3 separate regions of the Homo sapiens genome follow, and regions 2 and 3 are each linked to region 1. Evidence: promoter capture Hi-C in 16 types of primary human blood cells and fetal thymus (Javierre and others, 2016). All regions are on one chromosome and are shown on one strand. The core of a region is centred on a gene start or on the middle of the fragment in contact, and the rest is flanking DNA. Distances in the headings are between cores, read along the strand shown. Region 1 holds the start of RAB11B (RAB11B, member RAS oncogene family). Region 2 overlaps NFILZ (NFIL3 like basic leucine zipper). Region 3 overlaps ADAMTS10 (ADAM metallopeptidase with thrombospondin type 1 motif 10).

The links. Contacts are between HindIII fragments. The CHiCAGO score rates a contact against its expected background, and 5 or more counts as called.
Region 2: a contact is called between a fragment that was not itself captured here and the fragment with the promoter of RAB11B in region 1, in 1 of 17 cell types (neutrophils). The highest score is 6.4, in neutrophils.
Region 3: a fragment that was not itself captured here is called in contact with the fragment with the promoter of RAB11B in region 1 in 4 of 17 cell types (non-activated CD4 T cells, naive CD4 T cells, fetal thymus and 1 more); the score reaches 6.5 in non-activated CD4 T cells.

Annotation. Positions count from the first base shown.
Region 1 is chr19:8,388,632-8,392,751 of GRCh38, reverse strand. It overlaps RAB11B (RAB11B, member RAS oncogene family), which reads right to left and starts at 2,392. Exons shown (of 5, transcript NM_004218.4): 1 at 2,296-2,392. The coding sequence starts at 2,335. RAB11B-AS1 (RAB11B antisense RNA 1) reads left to right here and starts at 2,061. Exons shown (of 3, transcript NR_038237.1): 1 at 2,061-2,743. MIR4999 (microRNA 4999) reads left to right here and starts at 3,372; the gene lies at 3,372-3,462. RefSeq lists silencers at 2,000-2,259, 2,479-2,760 and an enhancer at 2,530-2,729. The HindIII fragment of the contact is 8,866 bases long and covers 741-4,120 here.
Region 2 is chr19:8,634,442-8,638,561 of GRCh38, reverse strand. It overlaps NFILZ (NFIL3 like basic leucine zipper), which reads right to left. Exons shown (of 6, transcript NM_001378600.1): 3 at 2,816-2,912. Among named protein-coding and RNA genes, the nearest start is that of NFILZ, 5.9 kb to the right of the region's middle. The HindIII fragment of the contact is 6,295 bases long and covers 1-4,120 here.
Region 3 is chr19:8,589,680-8,593,799 of GRCh38, reverse strand. ADAMTS10 (ADAM metallopeptidase with thrombospondin type 1 motif 10) reads left to right here. Exons shown (of 26, transcript NM_030957.4): 13 at 930-1,037; 14 at 1,697-1,842; 15 at 1,937-2,000; 16 at 3,809-3,911. Among named protein-coding and RNA genes, the nearest start is that of MYO1F, 14 kb to the right of the region's middle. RefSeq lists an enhancer at 1,401-1,999. The HindIII fragment of the contact is 2,010 bases long and covers 657-2,666 here.

The DNA.
Region 1 (4,120 bases), core at 1,143-3,642:
GCCACTGCACTCCAGGCTGGGTGACTAGAGTAAAATTCTGTCTCAAAAAAAAAAAAAAAAAAAAAAGAAAAGAAAAAGGAAAAGAAAAATATTGAAAGAGAATAGAGGAGGTCCTCTGATGAGGCACAGCTGTGAAGGTGAGACGGCAGATGACCAGTTTGGGAAAAGCTGAACTTGTGGGTTAGATTTTTGCTACCAACTAGCTTGAGAAGGTCAGCAGGGCACCTGCTAGACTCAGTAAAAGGAGGCCAGTGTGGGGAGGGCAGCAGGGCAGGCACCGCCCCCCCCCACCCCACACCGCCTGCCCGCCAAATGCCAGATGCCGCAGAAGCTAAATCAGTGTTTCCAGGAAGCAGTCTCTGCAGACAAGTCCCGGGAACCACACAGCCTCTCCATTGCTCCTGACCCAGTAACTGTTCTGCTGGGAACGCACTTCAAGGAAATAATCTAAAGGGCAAAACCATGACTTGAGCAAGCACTCGGAGCTGGGTCATTTAACACAGCAAAAGGGCAAAAATAACAAGCAGGGGATAACCACAGAAACCTGGATGGGGCATGTGGGGAGCAACACCCCTGCCCTGGCAGTGCCACGTCTGGGTGGGTGCCCAGCCAGGACCTGGGAGCAGCTGCCTCACGGTGGGCTGAGTGGAGATGGCACCCGATCAGCAGGACCCAAAGTTTAGTCCCCCTGTCTCCAGACGGCCCCTTAGAATCCCAGTCTCCAAAACCCTTCCAAAGCTTCCTCCTGCCACGAGGGGCGAGACCTTGGGCCGGGCACCTGCTGACCACAGAGCCTCACCCACCAGTGACATTATCAACCTGTGTGCAGCTGCCAGAGCCCTCAGTGCCACAGGACGACTCTAGGCCCTTGTAGAGGCACTTCCTCTCCCTCCCCCCGGAAGGCTTTCGCCACACGGACAGCCCAGGTGGGGAGACCTCTGCCTCATTCCCCACAATCAGAAGACGCTGGATGAGACCAGACACAAGGCCCAGCTAGGCCTGGTGCAAGCCACAGAGCACACTCGGAGGAACGGCTCAGCGAGGTGAGGATACCAACAGCTGATGTGCGACGCAGGCCCTCATAGAGCAGGCCGCAGGGTGAAGGCACCTTGGATCCAGGGGTTAGCCCTCAAGGGCTGCCATTGTCAGCCAGGGAGCCCAGCAACCAGGGCAGACCACTAGGCCAAAGTGTAGCTGGGCACAGAAGGCTCAGCTGAGAAACAAGGGACTCCGGCTTCCTCCAGCTGTCCCTAAATGGGCAATGGCTGCCTGATCTACCTAGGCCTTATGTGATGCTCCTAGAGCCCCCTCAGTCCCTCGGGCGGGGAAGACCCTCCAGCAGGCTGGCTGGGGCCCCGGCCATCAGTGCGCACGTGTTGGAAGAAGTTGGTCCAACAACCCAAAGTCCCAGATGCTGGCCACAAGCCCCCTAAGACACGCTTCCTAAGTGGTAAGGCCTACAGGTGGCCTGGGCTCAATCGGGTTCCAACACTTATAAACTGTGTCTTTGTCACTCTGGGCCTCAGTTTCCCAACGTGTAAAAAGAGAGGCTGGTTAGTATCAACCTCAAAGGGCTGCAGTGAGGATTTTAGTTAATTCGGGTAAAGTGCTCAGAAAAGTGCAAGTACTGGCTTAGCACTGTTGAGAGTTCTGAGTGAAGAGATGGAATTCTTGCTGCACACACGGGTGCCTTTCCACTCAATCCCAGCTTTGCACCCCAATCCAAGGCTCCCACCACCACACACCTCACCCCCAGGCCCTCATCTCGGCCCAGCCCCCATTGCCTGCCCCGCCTCTCCCGGGCCCCACCCCCAAACACGCTGCCCCAATCAGGACAAGCCTCGTGAGAGCCCCGCCTCCGTTTGCCCAGGCCCAACCCACCTATTGGTCACGCCCATCACGCCTTAGCCCCGCCCCTAAAAACCCCGCCCCCATCCCGAATCACGCTTTCAGCCCAGCCCGGCCCGCCAAATCTTGGGAAAGCTCCACCCCCTGCGGAGGCCCCGCCCTAACAGCCTCTCCCACCGCTCCGGGCCCCACCCCCTCTAGGCTCTGGCCCCGCCCCGGCGCGTCCTAGGTCCCCCAGGTCTCTCCGGGCCTCCGGCTCCGTATAGCCGCGCATCCTAGCCCGAAGCTGATGCTGCCCGGTCGGCTCCGGCCTTCCCGGCTGCCTGACCCGCCGGGCCCCAAGCCCCGGGCTCCGGCCTGGGCCCAGCGGCCTGGAGCGCGGCCTTGGCCCGTCTGCCCGCCGCCTCGCCGCCACGACTTCGCCCGTCTGTGCCCCACCGGCCGCACCTTTGAATAGGTAGTCGTACTCGTCGTCCCGGGTCCCCATTGTCCTGGCGCTTCCGGCGGGATCGGCGACTCCGCAGCCCCACCACAAACACCCGACGGGGGCGGAGCCGGCGCCGCGCAGAGCGGCGGTTGAATGGCCTATCAGCGGCGAGTGGAGTAGCGACGGGCACCCAGCGAAGCCAATCAGAGATGGAAGTAGTGCTCTGAGGGTGGGCGCCGCTTGGTACCACCCTCCTCGCCCTCGGTGTCCTGGAGAAAGGCGGAAGGAATGCGGACCTTTTTGAAGTGACGGACGCGCCAGCCTATCAGGGGCGAGCTCAAGAGGGCGGGGCGGAAGACTGCAGGAATGAAATGGATTGACAGACCAAATAACTAATGAGAGGCTTGATTGAGAACCTACCCGACTATCAGAGGACCTGTCCGGGAAGAGAAATGGGGCTACGTCCAGGTAATGCTACGATGCTTAACGTCCCGATGACGTCATAGGTCAGCGCGCGCTGCCCTGGTCGCCCCCCAAGCCCATAAATGACCATTTCCGGGGACCTCAGCGCTGGGTCCCCTTTCTCGGTTGCAGTCTCCATCTCTATATTGGGACTCACTGGGTTATCCTTCTGTGCCTCAGTTTCCTCCTCTGTAAACTGAAGAAACCCGTCTCATGGAATCTTTTGAAAATAACCAGATCAGCCAGGCGCGGTGGCTCACGCCTGTAATTCCAGGACTTTGGGAGGCCGAGGCTGGCGGATCACGAGGTCAGGAGTTCGAGACCAGCCTGACCAACATGGTGAAACCCCGTTTCTACTAAAAATACAAAAATTAGTCGGGCGTGGTCGCTGGTGCCTGTAAACCCAGCTACTCAGGAGGTTGAGGCAGGAGAATCGCTTGAACCTGGGAGGTGGAGGTTGCAGTGAGCCGAGATTGCACCAAGTGTGAATCAACCGTCCACTTTCTGCTATTCTTTGTTAAATAAATACTTTTAAATCCTTACTGGATACCAATGCTCTCCAACAGGACCTCCTACCACTACCCCTCTTTTGTCCTATATTTTGCCACATAGGTAAAATATAAAAATAGGTAATATAGAAAATAAAACACATACTGCTGTATTGTCAGGTAGTGATAGGATTTATCACTACCTGACAATACAGTATGTGTTTGTTTTATATATTTAGGGTGTACAGCGTGTGTTTTGATACACATGTACCCAGTGAAATAATAATTATGACAGTTTTTTTTTTTTTTTTTGAGACGGAGTTTTGCTGTCGTTGCCCAGGCTGAAGTGCAATGGTGTGCTCTCGGCTCACTGCAGCCTCTGCCTCCCGGGTTCAAGCGATTCTCATGCCTCAGCCTCCCGAATAGCTGGGATTACAGGCATGCACCACCATGCTTGGCTAATTTTTTTGTATTTTTAGTAGAGACGGGGTTTCTCCATGTTGGTCAGGCTGATCTCGAACTCCTGACCTCAGGTGATTCGCCCACCTTGGCCTCCCAAAGTGCTGGGATTACAGGCATTTTCACCACACATGGCCAATTATGAGAGTTAAGCAATTAACCTATCCATTGCCTTCCATAATTAACTGTGTGTGTAGTGAGAGTATCTAAAATGTACTTTCTTGGCAAATTTTCAATATACTATGCAAAATTATTAACACAAAGTATACGTTACTTTTTGTTTGTTTGTTTTGGCTGGCTGCGGTGGCTTATGCCTAAAAACATGCCCTTTGAGGAGGCTGAGGTGGGAGGATCACTTGAGGCCAGGAGCTAGAGACCAGCCTAGGCAACATGTCAAAACCCAGTCTCTCAAAAAAAAAAAAAAAAAAAGAAAAAA
Region 2 (4,120 bases), core at 826-3,325, 250 kb before region 1:
GCTTGGAATGGAGCCTGGCACGCAGGAGGTGTTCGTTCCGTAAATATTTGTTGAATGAATGAATCCACACTGAAAGAGGAAACGGGCAGGAGAGAAGTTGGGCAATTCGCCCAAGGCCCCACAGTCCTTAAGTGGCAGAAGCAAGACGGGAGCCCCCACAGTTCAACTGCACAGGCTTCCTAACCACTGTGTGAGGTTTTCCCCCAGGCACATCCCTTTGCACGCCCACAAATGCACACAGCGGCTAACGCACGTGCACACTCATGAACGCACGTGTAAATTCCACCACCAACAGGATAAGTGTGCGCACTTCTAGCATCACACAGCATAGCGTGTGACGCCTGGCTTAGCGTTTACCGCGGAATGGCAATGAGTTCGTTGTAGAATCTAGGGGTGAGTGTGCCTGTGCCCAATTCTTTCCATTTTTCTGTGTGTTGGAAAGAGTTTCTAATGTTGAGAAAATTTGACTTCCCATAGCATCTACTGATCTTTGCTCTATTAAGGTGGCCTGGCAAGGTCATGCTGGCACTAACCTGTGTTGGGGAAAGGTCTATGAAGTCCTTCTCTGTTCTACAAGAGCAAGGGGACTATGTGGAGGCTTTTTGTTTTTCTTTTTCTGTTCTTTTCTTTTTTTTTTTTTTTTTTTTTTGAGACCATCTTTAGTCTTGCTCTTGTCGCCCAGGCTGTAGTACAGTGGCGCAATCTCAGCTCACTGCAATCTCCGCCTCCCTGGTTCAGGTGATTCTCCTGCCTCAGCCTCCCAAGTAGCTGAGATTACAGGCATCTGCCACCATGCCTGGCTAATTTTTTGTATTTTAGTAGAGATGGAGTTTCACTATGTTGGTCAGGCTGGTCTCAAACTCCTGACCTCAGGTGATCCACATGCCTCAGCCTCCCAAAGTGCTGGAATTACAGGCGTGAGCCACTGCACTCGGCCTTTTTTTTTTTTGAGATGGAGTCTCACTCTGTCGCCTAGGCTGGAGAGCAGTGGTGCAATCTCGGGTCACTGCAACCTCCACCTCCCCAGTTCAAGCTATTCTCCTGCCTCAGCCTCCCAAGTAGCTGGGACTACAAGTATGCACCGCCATTCCCTGCTAATTTTTGTATTTTTAGTAGAGAAGGGGCTTCACCATGTTGGTCAGGCTGGTCTCGAACTCCTGACCTCAGGAGTTGCTGAGTTCTATGGTAACTTTGTGTTTAAGGTTTTGTTTTGGTTTGGTTTTGGTTTTTTTTCTATTGCCCAGGCTGGAGTGCAGTGGTGTGATCTCAGCTCACTACAATCTCTGCCTCCTGGATTCAAGTGACTCTCCTGCTTCAGCCTTCTGAGAGCTGAGATTATATGTGTGCGTCATCACACCCGGCTGGAGTGCACAGTCCTAGCTCACTGCAGCCTCGAACTCCTGGGCTCAAGTGATCCTTCTGCCTTGGCCTCTTAAAGTACTGGGACTACAGGTATGAGCCACCACATTCAGCCTTGCCCATTTTTTTAAAAACTAGGCAAGGATTTGGTTAGAATGAAGATTCTGGCCTCCCCTCCAGGCACCCTGTCCTATACCTCACCTGATTCGCACTTCTATATCTTCCCCTTGGCCCCAGCTCTATCCCTGACTGTCCCCCTCCAGTATCCAGGGGACCAGTGTCCTGTCTCTCCATACAAAAGCCTCCATATAGGCCAGGCGCAATGGCTAATGCCTGTAATCCCAAAACTTTGGGAGGCCAAGGTGGGCGGATCACTTGTGGTCAGGAGTTCGAGGCCAGCCTGGGCAAAAGGGTGAAACCTCACCTCTATTAAAAATACAAAAATTAGCCAAGCATGGTGGCTCACGCCTGTAATCCCAGCACTTTGGGAGGCCAAGGCAAGCTGATCACCTGAGGTCGGGAGTTCAAGGCCAGCCTCACCAACATGGTGAAACCCCGTCTCTACTAAAAATAAAAATTAAAAAAAAAAACATAGCTGGGCATGATGGTGCATGCCTGTAATCCTAGCTACTCAGGAGGCTAAGGGAGGAGAATTGCTTGAACCCAGGAGGCAGAGGTTGCGGTGAGCCGAGATGGCGCCATTGAACTCCAGCCTGGGCGACAGAGCAAGACTCTGTTTCAAAAAAAAAAAAAAAAAGATGGAGTCTCGCTGTGTTGCCCAGGCTGGAGTGCAATGGCGCAATCTCGGCTCACTGCAACCTCCGCCTCCCAGGTTCAAGCATTTCTCCTGCCTCAGCCTCCCAAGTAGCTGGGACTACAGGCGTGTGCCACCATGCCCAGTTAATTTTTGTATTTTTAGTAGAGACGGGGTTTCACCATGTTGGTCAGGCTGGTCTCGAACTCCTGACCCCGTGATTCACCCGCCTCGGCCTCCCAAAGTGCTGAGATTACAGGCATGAGCCACCGCGCCCAGCCGAAAATAAAATTTTTTTAAAAGGCTGGTTTTGGCTGGGTGTGGTGGCTCATGCCTGTAATACCAGTACTTTGGGAGGATGAGCCGGGTAGAACACTTGAGGCCAGGAGTTCAACACCAGCCTGGGCAATACGGTGAAACCCCCTCTCTACTAAAAATACAAAAATCAGCTGGGTGTGGTGGTGCGCACCTGTAATTCCAGCTACTCTGGAGGCTGAGACAGGAAAATAGCTTGAGCCCAGGAGGCAGAGGTGGCAATGAGCCAAGACTGCACCATTGCACTCCAGTTTGGGTGACAGAGCAAGACCCTGTCTAATAAATAAAAATAAATAAACAAATAAATAAAGAGAGAAAGAGAAAGTCAGAGACAGAGAGAGAGAATAAGGACTCATAGGTATTCACCGTAGAGAAATGGAAACTTACCCTCACACCAAAACTTGCACATCAACGTCTGGCACATTATTTATCATCGCCTATGAATTTGGGCATTCGTCACCAAAACTGGAAACAACTCACGTGTCTGTCAACAAATGAATGGATGCATGGTGACACATCCATACCAGGGACTCCTCAACAGTAAAAGAAACAAAAAATGCTACACCCAACAACGTGAATAAGCCTCAAATGCATTCTGCTGCCTGGAAGAAGTATGCGCCAAAAGCTGCCTATGGTACGATTCCATTGACATAATATCCTGGGAAAAGGCAGAAATATAGCAACAGAGAGGAAGTCAGCAGGGGCCAGGGGCTGGGACTGAGGGAGAGAAATTGACTCCAGAGGGGCACGCAGGAATTGCAGGAATTGGGAGGGAAAAAGGTATTCTGTATTTCTTTTTTTTTTTTTTTAATTTTTTTTTTTTTGAGATGGAGTCTTGCTCTGTTGCCCAGGCTGAGGTGCAGTGGTATGATCTCGGCTCACTGCAACCTCCGCCTCCCAGGTTCAAGCGATTCTCCTGCCTCAGCCTCCTGAGTAGCTGGGATTACAGGTGCCCACCACCATGCCCGGCTAATTTTTGTATTTTTAGTAGAGACAGAGAGTCACTATGTTGGCCAGGCTGGTCTTGAACTCCTGACCTCAAGTGATCCACCCGCCTCAGCCTCCCAAAGTGCTAGGATTACAAGTGTGAGCCACCAGGCCTGGCCGGTATTCTGTATTTCTATTGAGGTTGTGGTTATAGGGTTGTGTGGTTTGTCAAATATCACAGAATCGTATACTAATATGTATGGGTTTCACTGTCAGTAAATTACACTGGTTTTTTTGTTTTTTTGTTTGTTTGTTTGTTTGTTTGTTTGTTTGTTTGTTTGTGATAGGGTCTTGGCTAAAGTGCAGTGGGGCCATCTTGGCTTGATGCAGCCTCGACTTCCCGGATTCAAGTGATCCTCCCACCTTAGCCTCCCAATTAGCTGGAACTACGAATGCACACCACTATGCCCAGCTAATTTTCTGTTTTGTTTTTTGTAGAGACAAGGTCTCACTGTGTTGCCCAGACTGATCTCCAATGCCTGAGCTCAAGCGATCCGCCCGCCTCAGCCTCCCAAAGTGCTGGGACTATAGGCCTGTGCCACCACACCTGGCCAGTAAATTACACTTTAATTTTTACTTAAATGAAAGGAAAAAACATTACAATAATAAGGCCCAGCATTTTGGTAGGCTGAGGCAAGAGGATTACTTGAGGCCAGGAATTTGAGAGAGATCCCATCTCTACAAAAAATAAAAATTAGCTGGGTG
Region 3 (4,120 bases), core at 412-2,911, 200 kb before region 1:
GAAAGACGCTGGGAGGTTGCTTAGGATGTGGGCCAAGAGGGTCAGAGAGGACCACCTACTTTTTAGAGGAAAGACGCTGGGAGGTTGCTTAGGATGTGGGCCAAGAGGGTCAGAGATTTTGCTTCACCTGAACTCACTGGGGCTTCTCCAGGGATATTAACCTGGACTTTAAGAGTCAGAGTGAGTCCCTGGGACTAGTTCAGCCCATCCAGGATTCAGACGGGAAGAAGGTGGGGCTGATTTTTCACCTGGAGAAAGAGAGGCATGTCCCACACAGACCTAACTCGGCATTGTCCCCTCCCAAACTCCCACCCCTCCACATAGCTTAAAAGTGTTGGGGGCTTCTCCAGTTTAGATGGGGGAACAAAGAGAACCAACAGCTGGAAAAAACTAGAGATGAGGCCGTTGGCCTAGTCATCATCCAGGCCGATTTCTCAGAACCACCACTTTCTCTTCGGCTACTTTGCCCATCCCATAAAAGAACCCCAAATCCTTCCTGTTCATTCCTCAGCAGTTCCCACGTTTCCTTCCAGAAACTCAGAAGGCACCAGGAACTGAATTGCAAAGTTCGTTAGAGCACAGACTCTGAATTAAAGAGCTGGGTTAAACTCCAGGCTATTCCCTTAGTAGCTGTGTGACCTTACCTGTCTGAAGCTTGGTTTTCTCCCAGTAAGATGGGGTAGTACTGCCTAAAGAGGTATATGGCATGTATAAAGTGCTCCATAAATGGAGCTTATTGGGAGAGTATAAGTCACAGGCCATGCCCCGCAAGGGGATGCACGAAGACCCACCGCGAGCCAGGAAGGGAGCACCGGGCTCTCTGCTCTGGGACCGGCAGTGAGCCGGACATCTGGGTCCTCCCAAGCCGGGCGGGCTGCCCCAGGGAGGAAGGGAGGGGGGCGAGCCTGAGCGGGCACCTCGGCCCGCAGGAGGTCTGCAGCGAGCTGTGGTGTCTGAGCAAGAGCAACCGGTGCATCACCAACAGCATCCCGGCCGCCGAGGGCACGCTGTGCCAGACGCACACCATCGACAAGGGGGTGAGCGCCGGCCAGGGCCCCCAACTGGGCCACGCCCCCTGAGCCACCTCCCGCGTTGGCCACGCCTACCCGCCTGTCCTTCGGCCTATTATCTGCTCCCTCCCACATTGGCCACGCCCGCCATTTGTGCTCCCTCGGCTGTGGCCACGCCTACTGCTTGCTCCTTCCCGCGTTGGCCACGCCCACCGTCTATGCGTCCCTTGGTTCTGGCCACGCCTACTGTTTAACTCCCTCCCGCGTTGGCCACGCCCACCGTGTAATGATTCCCACGGCTCTGGCCACGCCTACTGTTTGCTCTCTCCCTCATTGGCCACGCCCATCCCCTGTGCTGCCCTCGGCTCTGGCCACGCCTACTGCCTGTAGACCTCCCCTCCCCAGCCTGAAGCCACGCCCCACCTCGTCTCCACGCTTATCGTGGTCCTGTCTACACCCCTCCCCGTTAAGCACCCTGTGCTCAGGCCACGCCTCTCGCTTGTACCTGGTCTGTCTCCCAGACCACTCTCCTACGTAACCTGACTCTGTTCGCATGTTCAGACCCCGCCTCTGCCCATCCCGGAGAGGCTGATATCTCTGGCTGGGGCCTGGAGTGGGGAACGGTGCATGGGGCCGACGAGTGTCCTCCGGGCTGGACTCACTCCTTCCTGTCTCCCCCCACCCAGTGGTGCTACAAACGGGTCTGTGTCCCCTTTGGGTCGCGCCCAGAGGGTGTGGACGGAGCCTGGGGGCCGTGGACTCCATGGGGCGACTGCAGCCGGACCTGTGGCGGCGGCGTGTCCTCTTCTAGCCGTCACTGCGACAGCCCCAGGTCAGCCCTCAGGACCCCCACCCGGGAGGGCAGCGCGACCCCTGCCCCCATCGCCCACTGCCTCATCCCTCTCCTATCCCACCACCCTTTCCAGGCCAACCATCGGGGGCAAGTACTGTCTGGGTGAGAGAAGGCGGCACCGCTCCTGCAACACGGATGTGAGTTCCCCCAAACCCCTTGAGGGGTGGGGGGAGGAAGCATTAAAAACAGCTATCAGAGGCCGGGCACCGTGGCTCACGCCTGTAATCCCAACACTTTGGGAGGCCAAGGCAGGCGGATCACGAGGTCAGGAGATCGAGACCATCCTGGCTAACATAGTGAAACCCCGTCTCTACTAAAAATACAAAAATTAGCTGGGCGTGGTGGCAGGCGCCTGTAATCCCAGCTACTCGGGAGGCTGAGGCAGGAGAATCGCTTGAACCCGGGAGGCGGAGGCTGCAGTGAGCCGAGATCGCACCACTGCACTCCAGCCTGGGTGACAGAGCGAAACTCCATCTCAAAAAAAAAAAAAAAAACAAAAACGCTATCAGAGTGCTTCATCCAGGCACCTGCTGCCTCCTGGGGAACCTGCAGCCGCCACCCCTCTCTTCCCTCCTCTCCCTGACCCCCACCACCTTCTCGTCCCCAACCCCTCCTCCTTAAAGACCTGGCTCCTTCCAGCTCTCTTTTCCTCCTACATTTAGACTACAAGCCCCCACCTTGAAATCACTGCTTGGCCCTCACAACCCCCTACCATCCAGTCTCTCCCCTCCCTTTACAGCCCAACTTCCCCTGAAGAGTCCTACCCCTGCCTTCTGTCATCCCCCAAAGTTGTAGCTGAAGCTTCCTCTCACCAAACCCAGTGACAGGTGTCTGTCCTCTGCTTGTGCCCTCAGCTGACCTGCAACCATCAGTGAGCAGTGAGAAGTTTACTGGGGAGGGGGTGTTTTAGAGGGCAGTGAGAGCTTTGGACTTTTCAGCCTCCCAGCTGGGGGGAACCAGGTCTTCAGAGAATCCACATGCTAGCACTTTCTATAAACCCTGATCCCTTCCAGACCTTCTCTCTCAAGAAAGACTCCATGTGGCCAGGTGCAGTGGCTCACACCTATAATCCCAGCACTTTGGGAGGCTGAGGCAGGCAGATCACCTGAGGTCAGGAGTTCGAGACCATCCTGGCCAACATGGCAAAACCCCATCTCTACTAAAAATACAAAAATTAGGCCGGATGAGGTGGCTCATGCCTGCAATCCCAGCACTTTGGGAGGCCGAGGCGGGTCAATCACCTGAGGTCAGGAGTTCGAGACCAGCCTGGCTAACATGGTGAAACCCCGTCTCTACTAAAAATACAAAAAATTAGCCAGGCGTGGTGGCACGCGCCTGTAGTCCCAGCTACTTGGGAGGCTGAGGCAGGAGAATCACTTGAATCCAGGAAGCGGAGGTTGCAGTGAGCCGAGATTGTGTCACTGCACTCCAACTAGGGCAACGAGAGCGAAACTCTGTCTAAAAATAAATAAATAAATAAATAAATAATGCAAAAATTAGCCAGGCATAGTGGCATGCACCTGTAATCCCAGCTACTCGGGAGGCTGAGGCAGAAGAATTGCTTGAACCCAGGAGATGGAGGTTGCAATGAGCTAAGATCATGCACTGTACCCCAGCCTGGGCGACAGAGTGAGATTCTGTCTCAAAAAAGAAAAAAAATGCAAGCAAGCAAGAAAGATTCCATAGCCTGGAACCAGAAACCCAGGTGTGTCCTGCCCAGCTCACCCTCAGACCTCTAATGAGGGATCCAGTCCTATCCCAGATGTGTCTACACGCCCAGCCCAGGCTACCTTCCAGGCCTAGTCTCACGCAGACCACCACAGCCTCCTCCCTGGCCTCCCTGCCTCTAGCCTCCCTCCTCCAGCCCATCTTTCTCTGAGCACCCCTTTTCTGACTCCATCCCCCCAAGCCTGGCCTCCCTCCATCTCTCCTCTCCTGCCCCCAGGACTGTCCCCCTGGCTCCCAGGACTTCAGAGAAGTGCAGTGTTCTGAATTTGACAGCATCCCTTTCCGTGGGAAATTCTACAAGTGGAAAACGTACCGGGGAGGTGAGTGTGGGACTCCAAAGGCTGTGGGGCCGTGAAGGGCAGCCGTGGGAGTGTCCAGCAGCAGGTGGATGAATGCAGCATCCCGGGGTCTGCCCTGAGCCCTGTCCCCACCCGGGGAGACAGAGTACCTGGGATACGGTACCATGGGGGTTCAACGTGACGCTGGGAGCCCCCACTCCCTCTGCCCAAGCTGCCCTTCCTCTTGGGTC